Regions from separate parts of the Homo sapiens genome. Here region 2 is linked to region 1. Evidence: promoter capture Hi-C in 16 types of primary human blood cells and fetal thymus (Javierre and others, 2016). All regions are on one chromosome and are shown on one strand. Each heading gives the region's core, a stretch centred on a gene start or on the middle of the fragment in contact. The rest is flanking DNA. Distances are from core to core; before and after follow the strand shown.

Region 1 (6,234 bases), core at 1,217-3,716:
GTCTAGTGTATGAGAAACAAGAAGAAGATGAGTGGGTCTCAAGAGAGAAGATTGAGAGGGGAACCATAGGTTTGGAATTTAGTTCTGGCCATTGGCAATTTTGAAAGATTTATGCAAACTCTATAAACCTCTGTCCTGCATGTGGATAACAATTGCACTTATTTTCTAGGGCTACGTGAGGTTGAAACAAGATTACATATGTACAGTGTTTAGTGCAGTGCCTGGTTTGTAGAAAATGCTGACACACGTTGGATATGATCATTACACTTATAGGTTAAGAAAGCAAACTCGAGAGCCATCTCATCAGGGTTTGAATCCTAGCTCTACTTACTCATCACGTACTGGCTATGTGAATTTGGGCAACTCTCTAAACTCAGTTTGCTCTTCTGTAAAATGAGAATAATAATACAGCATCTCCCATGGAATTGATGTAACAATTAATGTGTTGATATGTGGAAAGACCTTAGAACAGTGCCTGGTACATAGTAAGCACTCCTTAAAGTTAGCAATTATTATGATCATTAATAATAAGGTTCTAATATGTGCCAGATCTTTAAAAAAAAAAAAAGTAGACCAAAGTCTTTCTGATGTGAGCTCTTCGGAAAAGTGGATTTGTGGGCACAGGAAGAGCAGAGGGTCTCGAATAAGTCAGAAAGATTTTCCTCCCTCATCTAGAAGAGATAAGCCAAGGCTGGAAGAGGGAGGATGAGGGATAAGAAAAACAGGAAAAGGAGAAGAAGAGAACTGTGAATTCCAGTAAAGAGAATACCAGACAGCTGTGAAGCAGAATAGCTGTCTGTTAAATTTAGGCAGATGTGACCAGGAGTAGCCTTGAGTAAATGTGACTATATTCTACAGGAGTCACTAAAGCAGCAGAGAGTCAGCAATGACAGATGGCTCAGGAAGTGACCTGTGTTAGGACTATGCATCTGCTATGTGTTGCTGTGTAACAAATTACCTCAAAACGTGGTGGCTTGAAATACCATTTGTCACTTCCCAGTTTGCGTGGGCCAGGGAGCTGGGCAGGGCTAGCCTGGGTTGTCTGCTTCTGGGTCTTTCCCAGTTCCAATCGAGCATTAGATGGGGCTGCAGTCAGCTCAAGGCTCAACTGGAGAAGGATCCACTTCCAAGCTCACACACTTGGTTTTTGGCTGGATTCCTGGCTGTTGGATGGAGCATCAGACCCTTACTGGCTTTTGAGACCACTCTTGATTCCTTGACACATGGGCTTCTCCACCATGGCAGCTTGCTTCATCAAAGCAGGCAAGCAAGAAAGTAATAGAGTCCAACAAGATGGAAGCCTCATCATGGTAGTGGAAACTCAGCACCTTTGCCTTACTTTATTTACAAGGAGCATGTCAGCAGCCTCAGTCTACACTCAAGGGATGGAGAATAGACATGAAGTTCCAGAGACAGAGAACTTTGAAATTAGATGGGCCCTCCTCCTGACAGTTCCTGCTGCCTAGAACATGTTCTACAGAAGATCCTGCCATGTGGCAGAACCTCAGGGGGAAAGGGAACCCCAGGAAAGGATGAGATTAACTTTTCCGCCAGCCGGACCAACTGGTGCCTCAGAAGAGAACTTGATTTAAGAAAACAAATAAAGAATACACCTTGCACATCTGTGCTGAGGACTCGATTATTTCTCATTTCTTTTATTTCATTTAATTCTTCAAGCCATCATATGACATATATATTTTTATGTTTATAATTGAGAAAACTGCAACTCAGAGGGGTAAGTCACAAATCTGAGGTCACACAGCTAGGATGGTAGACAGGTTGAATTTCTGTCTTGTGACCCCAGAATCCGCACTCTTTCCACTATGCAGTGGTACCTCAATGTTGCTGGAATATATATTTGAATGTACATTTCTTTTATCACTTACAGTAGTACAGATGTGTATGAACCCATAAACACCATCAAGTCTTTGAGCTCTACTATAATGTAAATGTAAAATGCCATCTATAGAGTTTTTTGTGAAGTCCAACCTTCATTAGATAAACCTATTGCCTCTATAGAAATTTTCATAAGATCAAGCTCTTGCTATTTAATAGTATTCTGAATTTAATAGCATCAGTGCATTATCCTCAATAAATTTAAGTGATTTGGACAAAGATCACTACTCTGCACTACTTATAACTGAATGTGGCCATATGATGAGCAAGAAATGTCAGTTCGCTGAGTCTTTCTCACGTTCTCGCAGCCAAAGGTGACAAGTTAGCTCAGAAAACCACCCCTCCAGTGACCAGGGTGTAACCAGCTGGCCTGACACATGGGCTGCACATTCCCTGCTGCTGGCCCAGGAAACTCTCTGAAATCTTCAGCACACTCCTCAGTGTGAATGCCACTGATGTGAGCCCAACAGGAAGTGTGACCTCATTCTGCTTCTTTGCCTCTGGTTACGCAGGCTGTTTTCAAAAGAAAACAAGAGAAGTTGTAAGACTGACTTTCCCAAGAACTATACACTCATTTATACCAGGAAACAGACAAGAGAACAAGAGGCTGCCGAAGACAAAACTTCTCTGCAAGCACCTGTGCACAGCAATGTGCGTGGGCATCTGTGAGAAGAAGGTAGGGTGGGATTCCCTTTATTAAGAGACTTCTGCACCTGTTGACATTCAGACATTTTTCAGCCGAGGAACTGCTCAGTCCTCAATTTTTCCACTGTCAACCACAGGAAGCTTCGTATTTCAGTAATAATTTTGTCCTTTGTCAATTGGAAGAAGAGGCTGGGAACTCCCTTTGGAAGGAACACGTATGCACACATTATTTTTCAGAATAGATGTGTCGCTTTGATGGAACTGGCAGATTCTGTTTCTTGAAAAGTTTTAGATCTGTAACTGAAGGGCTTTTTTTTTTCCTACTGTTACTAATTTTCTATTGAATGTCAGTGTACTGCCTGTAGATTCTTCTAAGCACTTGTGAGATAGAGCAATAAGACCTTCTTTTGCTGCAGGATTTATAGGCTTAAAATTAAGCTTAATACTTGGGGAACACTAAAATAAGGTAATTTGGGCTGGGCATACCCGTACAATATTGATCAAAAATGAAAAGAACAAGTAACATACTAATATATTACATTACACTGGGATTATTTTATATCCCAAACAAATGAAATTTGTAAATGTGTGCTTTGATTTAGAAATCTTCCAAGGAAGGCCAGAAAGTTCTCCTGACATCTTTACAGGTCTCTATAAACCAGGTTTATATTTTCCTAATAGGGTTTATATATAATTTATTGAAATATTCAACTTGAAGCTGTAGAATTAGCCTGGTTTGATTGATTGAATTACAGCTACAAAAACAATCCATTACTAGTTCTCATGTTACAAAATGTGGCCATAAGTGGTGAATCAGAAAATAATTTACTCCTACCTTATAAAGCGATTAGGATAGTGATACTATATACAAAGTTTCATAGTCAACAGAAGTTGGTTCTATTTGATGAACAGTAAATGATCAAAGTTTGCATAATTTACATACTTTGATATGTTTTTAATTAGTAATTGAGAAATTAAATCATGTCTTCATGGGAACTAAGTTCTAAAATCTTCCCAATGGTATGCTATCTTTAGTGCAACATTACTTATGCTGTTTAGGAATGTCCAGGCTGATAAAAACTATTAAAATCACTCTCTGTGACTACCTGTCAATGGTTCAAGTTGTTGGGAAAAAGACAGACACCAATCTCCAAGCACTGTTTGAAACTTGATAATGAAGTTGACTTGTGTCAGATGATTAAAATACACGTAAGTTTGTTTTGGGGCTAAATGACTGTTAGAACCAGTCATTTTATTAAGATTTCTTAATCAAATACCTCACTTTCATTATTTTCTTTGGATTACAAATCAACCTTTTTAAGTCTAGATTTTCCAAATAAAGTGTGGTTCTTATTTACAGAAAAATGTTATTGAGATGCACTGAGTGAGGCAATGGAAAATGTTCAGTCATAGAGGCAGACACAACTTTAGAGGGGTTGTGTCTTCAGTCTGGTCTCCTACCTTCAATTCTGTATCTCTGTATTATTTCAGTAAACAAATCTGACTAGTGCAATTAGTAGATGCCATCTGTTTTGGCATAATTTTTCTATTTTTAATATATAGTCCACCTTTTTTTTAACATCTTTTGCAGAGAATCTGTGAAGTTTGAGCAAGCGGCCTTCCCAAGATGTACCGAATATCTCAACTGATGTCAACACCAGTAGCAAGTAAATGTAGAAGAACTGTGATACGCAATTATCTTTTGAACGATTAGACTCCTTTTAGCAATTTCCTTGCTTTGATTTTGCTGATACTCAGACCATTAACCATCTGTCAGTAGCTTGTGCTTCTTAAATGCCAGTGTTCACTTTGGCAATGATTTTAACTTCATTTTTTTCCTTGAAAGAAATGTGGTATTTTTCCTTCTAGTAGAAAAAAAAAAATCACCGTTTTTTTTTAGATGCCTGTGCATAAATGTGAAAGGAGATTGTTTATCAGCTACTATTAAGATGCAAAACTGTTTGTATATAAAAAATGCTGAATGATTTTGATAGCTACTTGCAGAAAATAAGAGCGCTGTTAAAACGGTAGTGGTTTCAAGTTTCTTCCTTCCTCTTGTTATTTTCTCCCAAAACCCCACTTCTAACTCTCCCTCACACACCCACAGTTTTCTCCCTACAAATCAACCAGCCCAATCTGAAAGTCTAAATTCCTTTCTTTGTCCTAGATACTAATTGTCCATAATGGAATCAAATTTCACTAGCTTGTCTGTTAGGACTATTGACACCATCTCTGCACACGATAAAATTCTGCTTTAGAGTTTAGAATATTAATCAACTCCAACTTTCTCCAAGTAAAGTCTGTTGCCACGCCTTTGGTTAAAATGGAACGAATGAATGGATGATGTTTCTATAATTAAGAATACTCACAGTCTTTATACTTTGGAAAAATGTTATATAAAACAAAACAAAACTTTATTTCTTCCCCACTAATGTCTTTTGCTCATTATTTTACAGTAGAAGTGTCTTAATATGCACTAATGAGGGAGAGTCTAGAACAATGATTGAATTCCTCAGATTACTGAGTAAGCTGCAATAACCAACACATTGGGTAATTGATTTGGGTTTTCTCCTGCTTCACACAAGACGTTTTTTCCCATCCTTACATGAGCTCAGTTTGATGCTAATGATTTATTATTGCCTCATTCTGCACTAAGAAATTTTTTTTTTTTTTTTTTTTTTGAGACAGAATCTTGCTCTGTCGCCCAGGCTGGAGTGCAGTGGAGCGATCTCAGCTCACTGCAAGCTCTGCCTCCCAGGTTCACGCCATTCTCCTGCCTCAGCCTCCCCAGTAGCTGGGACTGCAGGCGCCCACCACCACGCCCTGCTAATTTTTTGTATATTTTAGTAAAGACGGGGTGTCACCGTGTTAGCCAGGATGGTTTAGATCTCCTGACCTTGTGATCCGCCCGCCTCGGTCTCCCAAATTCTGAGATTACAGGAGTGAGACACTGCGCCCGGAACTTCTAGAGTGTTATGTGGATGAAGGAACAGAAGATAGAAGCCTCTAGTTTATGTCTTGCTTCCGGTAGATCCCTGGTGATAAGGGTACCTGCACTACTGGAGTCTTCCTGCTGAAGCTGGAACATCAGCTATTCCCATCTTCTTACATGCCTCCACTGTTTGCAATTATACATATTGATACATGTATCAACATATGTAACTGTTGATCAGGTATGATACATTCTACTTCTCTCTCATTTGTTTATGCAGGTTCTTCCAGGTTGGAAAGAGAATATGCTGGAGAGCTGTCTCCCACGTGCATTTTCCCAAGGTATACTATGGGGCTTCTTTTAAAAAAATAATCATTCTGGCCGGGCGTGGTGGCTCATGCCTGTAATCCCAGCACTTTGGGAGGCCGAGGCAGGCGGATCACGAGGTCAGGAGATGGAGACCATCCTGGCTAACACGGTGAAACCCCGTCTCCACTAAAAATACAAAAAAAAAAAAAAAATCAGCGCTGCGTGGTGGCGGGCCCCTGCAGTCCCAGCTACTTGAGAGCCTGAGGCGGGAGAATGACGTGAATCCAGGAGGCGGAGCTTGCGGTGAGCCGAGATCCCACCACTGCCCTCCAACCTGGGCGACAGAGAGAGACTTGTCTAAAAAAAAAATCATTCTTCGCTGGGCATGGTGGCTCACCCCTGTAACCCCAGTACTTTCGGAGGCCGAAGTGGGTGGATCACCTGAGGTCAGG
Region 2 (6,641 bases), core at 942-3,441, 7.7 Mb after region 1:
TAACAGCTAACAATTACTGAGCACTTACTACTATTCTAAGTAATTTGTAAAATATTATCTCGCTAATCCCCACAATAATGCCTTTTATAAATAGGAAACCTGAGGCAAATTGGAGGGTAGAGAATTTGCCCAAGGTCACAAAGATAAGAGAGGGCACTGGGATAAGAACCCAAGCAATCATCTATTACACTATTATGCCTGTATTACAATGAGGGTATAAGATACATAGCACACAAATCAAATCCTTTTTACCTTAGTTACAATACCTTAGTCAAAGTTATTTTCTTTTTCACTTGAGCTACTGACATAATCTCCTCTTTGGCCACCTGAAGTCTTTCCTTCCTCAGTACTGCTGTGGACAGTTATCTTTCTAAAACTGGATCTTACCATATTTTTTCCTCTACTTTAAACCTTCCAATGATAAGGTTCAAACTCCTTGGCAAAGCATCACATTATAGGCCATCAATGTTCACTTAATGATTGAATAACAAGTATATGTCTTATTTCCTACCTAGACTGTAAACAACTCAAAGGAAGAAACCTTTATTTATCTTTGTAGTTTTGGCAACATATCTGATGAATTAGTGACTTAGCTGGACTCAGTCTTACACAGACTTCCAAACTCATCCATCTTTCTTACCCTCTTCACATCACAGGCCCTTCTTCTAAGTTCTGACCCTCAAATTTTACTAATTGCTGGTTGTCATATATGATAGCTATTGAATTAACATTGTGGCTGAGAGCACTTAGCATATATTATCTCATTAGTCCCAACAATCTTATGAAGCAGGCATTTTAATCCTATTTCACAGATAAGAAATTAGAAGCTGAAAGAAGTTAGGTACCTTACTCAAAGTTACAGAACTTATGACAGAGTTAGGACTGGACCCAATAGCAAGCGTGCACTTAAGTGCTGATACTGGCTGCCTTAGTATCAGCCTTCTACAAGTCTTTCATCTACTGTTACAGGCTGATCTACCCTCCAATTTCCTTAAACAACCGGTGTTTTCCTACTCTCTGGGTCCTTGGACAGCACCTCAGTCTGGTATCACATTAACACTGCTCCCCTAACAAGTTCTTGCTGAATTACCCCAGTGGGAGTGATTGCCCTTGGCTTTCTCTCTGCAGAGGACTTCTCATGTCATCTACCTCCTATTCATAAGCAATCAAACTCAGTTTGTTCTCAGTGTGGTCTTCTGAGCCATTTCAGGGGGTCCGTGGGTCAAAACTATTTTCATCGTAATTTCTTCTGGGCCCTTTCAGGGGATCCATGGGTCGAAACTATTTTCATCATAATTTTTTTTATTTTTTTTTTGAGACAGGCTCTGGCCCTGTTGCCCAGGCTGGAGTACAGTCGTGTGATCTCAGCTCATTGCAACCTCTGCCACCTGAGCTTAAGCTGTCCTCCCATCTCAGCCTTCTGAGTAGCTGGGACTACAGGTGTGCACCACCATGCCTGGCTAATTTTTGTATGTTTTGTAGAGACAGGGTTTGCCATGTTGCTGCAGGCTAGTATCAAACTCCTGAGCTCAAGCAATCTGCCCAGGTTGGCCTCCCAAAGTGCTGGGATTATGGGTGTCAGCCACCAGGCCTAGCTTATTTACATCATAATTTTAAGATGCTATTTGTCTGGGTTTGTTTGTTTTTCTTTTTCTTTTTTAACATTTGCACCATTAGTACAAATGTTGAATGTTTGTACTAATGGTGCAAAAGCAATTGTGGAAAAAACTGCTGGTGCCTTAGCAAAAATCAGAGCAGTGGCACCAAACTGTTGCACTCTAATAGATCATTGTATTCCTCTCTACCAAGCACTCATAGTAAAACAAATGCTAGTTTCATTTAAGAATGTCCTTGATAGGCCAGGCCTGGTGGCTCATGCCTGTAATCCCAGCACTTTGGGAGGTCGAGGAGGGTGGATCACGAGGTCAGGAGTTCAAGACCACCCTGGACAACATGGTGAAACCCCGTCTCCACTAAAGATACAAAAATTAGCCGGGCATGGTGGTGTGCACCTGTAATCCGAGCTACTCAGGACTCAGGAGGCTGAGGCAGGAGAATAGCTTGAACCCAAGAGGCGGAGGTTGCAGTGAGCCAAGATCGTGCCACTGCACTATAGCCTGGGACAGAGCAAGACTCCATCTCAAAAAAAAAAAAAAAAAAGAATGTCCTTGATAAAACAGTACAATATAGAACAATTCACAGACAAACTATGGTTATTCAGGTTTGGGTATCTGAAAGACATTTTCTCAAAAATGAAGAAAGTGAGCCTGTGCAACTGTAATTTCAAAGACAACAACTAACAGCATTTGTTGCTAATGGTAAAATGAAAGTTTTTTTTTGTTGTTTTTTTTTTGAGACAGAATTTTGCCCTTTCACTTAGGCTGGAGTGCAGTGGCGTGATCTCGGCTCACTGCAACCTCCGCCCCCAGGGTTCAAGCGATTCTCCTGCCTCAGCCTCCCGAGTAGCCGGGATTATAGGCGCCCACCACCACGCTCAGGTAATTTTTGTATTTTTAGTAGAGACAGGTTTTCGTCATGTTAGCCAGGCTGGTCTCCAACTCCTGAACTCAGGTGATCCTCCAGCCTCGGCTTCCTAAAGTGCTAGGATTACAAGTGTGAGCCACAGCACCCGGCCAAAATGAAAGTTGTTTGTTTTTTTTTTTTGAGATGGAGTCTTGCTCTGTCGCCCAGGCTGGAGTGCAGTGGCCTGATCTCTGCTCACTGCAACCTCCGCCTCCCAGGTTCAAGCTATTCTCCTGCCTCAGCCTCCTGAGTCCTGAGTAGCTCGGATTACAGGTGCGCACCACCACGCCCGGCTAATTTTTGTATTTTTAGTAGAGATGGGGTTTCACCAAGTTGGTCAGGCTGGTCTCAAACTCCTGACCTCGTGATCCACCTGCCTCAGCCTCCCAAAGTGCTGGGATTACAGACATGAGCCACCACACTCAGCCCAAAGTGAAAGTTTTAAAGAAAAAATTAGAACTTTGAAAAATTTGTGTTCACCATTATAAATTTGAGAGCGTATGACTTTTCTGATAAGATCAGTGGTGATATTAGTTATTTGCAGCTTTATAACATCTTTTCTGTTTTCTCATTGTTTTAGTATTTTAATATGTGTTTGTCTTCCCACTAAGATGGTAAACTCTATGAAGGGAAGAACTACTTAATACTTGTTTATGTCCTCTTTAAAACCTAGAGCTGAATTATATGCAGAATAGTCACTTGGTTAGTTTATGTTGACTACTTTGTTATTTTGACTCCTGGTATTAGTTAAAATGTGTGTGTGTGTGTGTGTGTGTGTATGCACACACACACGCATGTATTCATATACATATTGAGTTCATAAGAAGTCCAGGCTCCTGGTGACTCTGTGTCTGTCTAAGTTGTTTAGTTCACTTTTTTTCCCATATAACTTGCTCAAAATTTTTCTTAAATTAACTTTTTTGGTAAATGCAAAATCAAGTATTTGCTGTAAAATTAATCCAAATATTAAAAAATAAATACATCTTTCTTTTAAAAATTACTTAATGACAATCTGCGGCACTAAAGCAGGGGTTGACAAACTAAGACCTGTGAGCCAAATCCGGCCCACTGCCCATTTTTGTAAATAAAGTTTTATAAGACCACAGCCATGCCCATTCATTTACGTACCATCTATGGTGGGTTTTGCACTACAACAGCGGGTTGTGACAGAAACCACATGGCCTACAGAGTTGAAAATATTTGTTATCTGGCCCTTTATAGAAAAACTTTGCCAACTTTGGCTTTAGAGCATGAACCTTTCAAAAAATGATGTTTATAATTCTTCTTAAATTGCACATGTTGTATTTTACAACAAAATATACCTCTTATTTAAAACAAAACAAAACCAAGAGAAAAAAAAAACTCTGTAGCTAAAACTCCCAGGAATCTTCAAAAAGAATCCTGAAAAAAACTGATACAATCTCCCAAGGGGTTATGTTCCAGTCTTCTCTCTTATGGTTTAAGATTTTATTATGACTTTTATCCAGGCCTATCTATCAAAGCTAAATTATGATCACCAAAAACATAATCAAAAACAGACTGGGTAGGGTTAAAACATTTGGAGGCCACCCACTAAAAAGATTATGAGTGACACCTGCTGTTAGCCGTAAATGAATAACTGTATGGAGCTGGTCCACCTGCCATGAATGACTGAAAAACTAAACAAAATATATGAAACAATAGCTGTGGGACAGTAGGACAAAGGCGGGACAGGACTGTAATTACTGCAATAAGGGAAAACTGGGAAAAGTCTTGCAATGGCCTCCTCCCTGCGCAAGGGAGGAGGAATCCAAGGGAGTTTTTGAGACAGAGTCTCACTCTCTTCCCCAGGCTGGAGTACAGTGGCACAATCTCGGCTCACTGCAACCCCCTTCTCCCATGTTCAGGCAATTCTCCTGCCTCAGCCTCCCCAGTAGCTGGGACTACTGGCATCCTCCACCATGCCTAATTTTTGTTTTTTAGTAGAGACAGGGTTTCGTCAGGTTGGCCTGGAACTCCTGACCTCAGGAGATCCTCCTGCTTCGGCCTCCCAAAGTGTTGGGATTACAGGTAGGAGCCACCATGCTCGGCCTAGCACAGCAGTCTTGAAGGATTGAGGAGACAGAGACTTCAGTTCAGGGAGGCTGAGGCAGCCAGCAGGGTTTGCAAGAGAGTGAGGGAGCTATGCAGATAAAGAGCTCTAGGAATCTGCACTGGGGTCCCCTTGAGTCTGATGCTGAGTCCTAAGATGCTGAGCAACAAATACTGACAGCTATAAAGTGAACAACTCCCAGGTTCAGTCACGTAGGACCTAGGACCGGGAGACACTCAAATTCCATCCAGCCAGAGTAGAGCTATCGCACTGAACCCTCGGGGCAATCAAGAGAGACTCCAGAAGGGCCATGCTTTGTAACAAGGCTAAATTAGCCCTAACATAAAGGCTATATTAGACTTGACCTAACAAAGCTTAACGATAAGCCTAGAAAGGATCAGCCTAATCCACAATCACTTAGCTGCACACCAAACAAACTCCAACACTATTTAAAAGAGGACAACAAGCTGGGCATGGAGGCTCATGCCTGTAATTCCAAGATTTTGGAAGGCCAAGGCAGGCGGATTACCTGAGGTTGGGAGTTTGAGACCAGCCTGACCAACATGAAGAAACTCCGTCTCTACTAAAATTACAAAATTAGCTGGGCGTGGTGGCGCATGCCTGTAACCCCAGCTACTCCGAAGGCTGAGGCAGGAGAATCGCTTGAACCCGGGAGGCGGAGGTTGCAGTGAGCCGAGATCGCACCATTGCACTCCAGCCTGGGCAACAAGAGCAAAATTCCGGCTGAAAAAAAAAAAAAAAAGACAACAAAATCCAAACACTCAACAACATAATACACATAGAGATGACAGAATTAACATACAAGGATATTAAAATAGCTATTATAAACATGCTCCATATACTCAAGAATGTAGAGGAAAATATGGACACAATGAAGAAAGAAATGGAAGACTAAAAAAAAAGATTCTACTTAATTCTTTGTTATGTCTTCAACAATTAAAAATACAGTAACTGAAATTTTTAAATTCACTAAATGGAATTATCAGATTAGACACTGCAGTAGACAAGATGAATGAACTTAGCAATAGAAATTATTCAAATTGAAGCTAAAGAGTAAAAAGACTGGAAAAAATCTATCAAGTTCCACTGATTTATGGGACAATATCAACCCATCTAACATACATGAAATGTGAGTCACACAGAAGGAGAGGAGAGCAGAGGAATTAAAAAAATATATTTGAAGAAATAGTAGCAGAAATTTTTCCAAATTTGATTCAAAAAACTATAAGCTGACAGATCCATAAATCTCAAACAATATCAGTCAGGACAAAAAAAATCACACCACGGCACATCACAAATTGCTCAAAACCTATGCCAATAAAAACAAAACAAAAGGATCATGCTGCTCCTCTGGCTCCATGTGTAAAATAAAATAAAAACGATTCTACTCCAAAGAAAGCAAATAACATCTTTTTTCTTTTTTTTTTTGAGACAGAGTCTTGCTCTGTTGTCCAGACTGGAGTGCAGTGGCTCGGTCTCGACTCACTGCAACCTCCACCTCCCGGGTTCAAGTGATTCTCCTGTCTCAGCCTCCCGAGTAGCTGGAATTACAGGCACCTGCCACCACACCCAGCTAATTTTTTGTATTTTTAGTAGAGACGGGGTTTCACCATGTTGGTTTTGTATTTTTAGTAGAGACGGGGTTTCACCATATTGGCCAGGCTGGTCTCAAACTCCTGACCTCGTGATCTGCCGGCCTCGGCCTCCCAAAGTGCTAGGATTACAGGGGTGAGCCACTGCACCCGGCCTGCAAATCACATCTTTCTAGATCTTCTTGATTGAACAAATGTAGGTAAAATTCATTAAAGTTGAACTTTTCTCATTTTTGTTGAGGCCTTCCTTTGCTGGTATCCCTAGCATAAGCTTAGTCTATCTACTGGTTAATCAAGTATGACCAAAGTATAAACTACTGAAAAATAACAATATCATAATAAATTTATATACCTTACAGTTCACAAATGTCAAATACTTTAGATTGTATGCTCCTTGGGGTCAGGATCTTCAAATCTTTGCCCATACATTTCTA

What was found. The method cuts DNA at HindIII sites, captures the fragments that hold promoters and counts their contacts. A CHiCAGO score of 5 or more calls a contact.
Region 2: a fragment that was not itself captured here is called in contact with the fragment with the promoter of TMEM71 in region 1 in 1 of 17 cell types (neutrophils); the score reaches 5.1 in neutrophils.

Annotation. Positions count from the first base shown.
Region 1 is chr8:132,756,814-132,763,047 of GRCh38, reverse strand. TMEM71 (transmembrane protein 71) reads left to right here and starts at 2,466. Exons shown (of 10, transcript NM_001382403.1): 1 at 2,466-2,572; 2 at 4,133-4,208; 3 at 5,754-5,814. The coding sequence starts at 4,169. The HindIII fragment of the contact is 4,740 bases long and covers 1-2,684 here.
Region 2 is chr8:125,102,708-125,109,348 of GRCh38, reverse strand. All of the region lies in intron 3 of NSMCE2 (NSE2 SUMO ligase component of SMC5/6 complex), which reads right to left. Among named protein-coding and RNA genes, the nearest start is that of NSMCE2, 14 kb to the right of the region's middle. The HindIII fragment of the contact is 5,559 bases long and covers 1-4,970 here.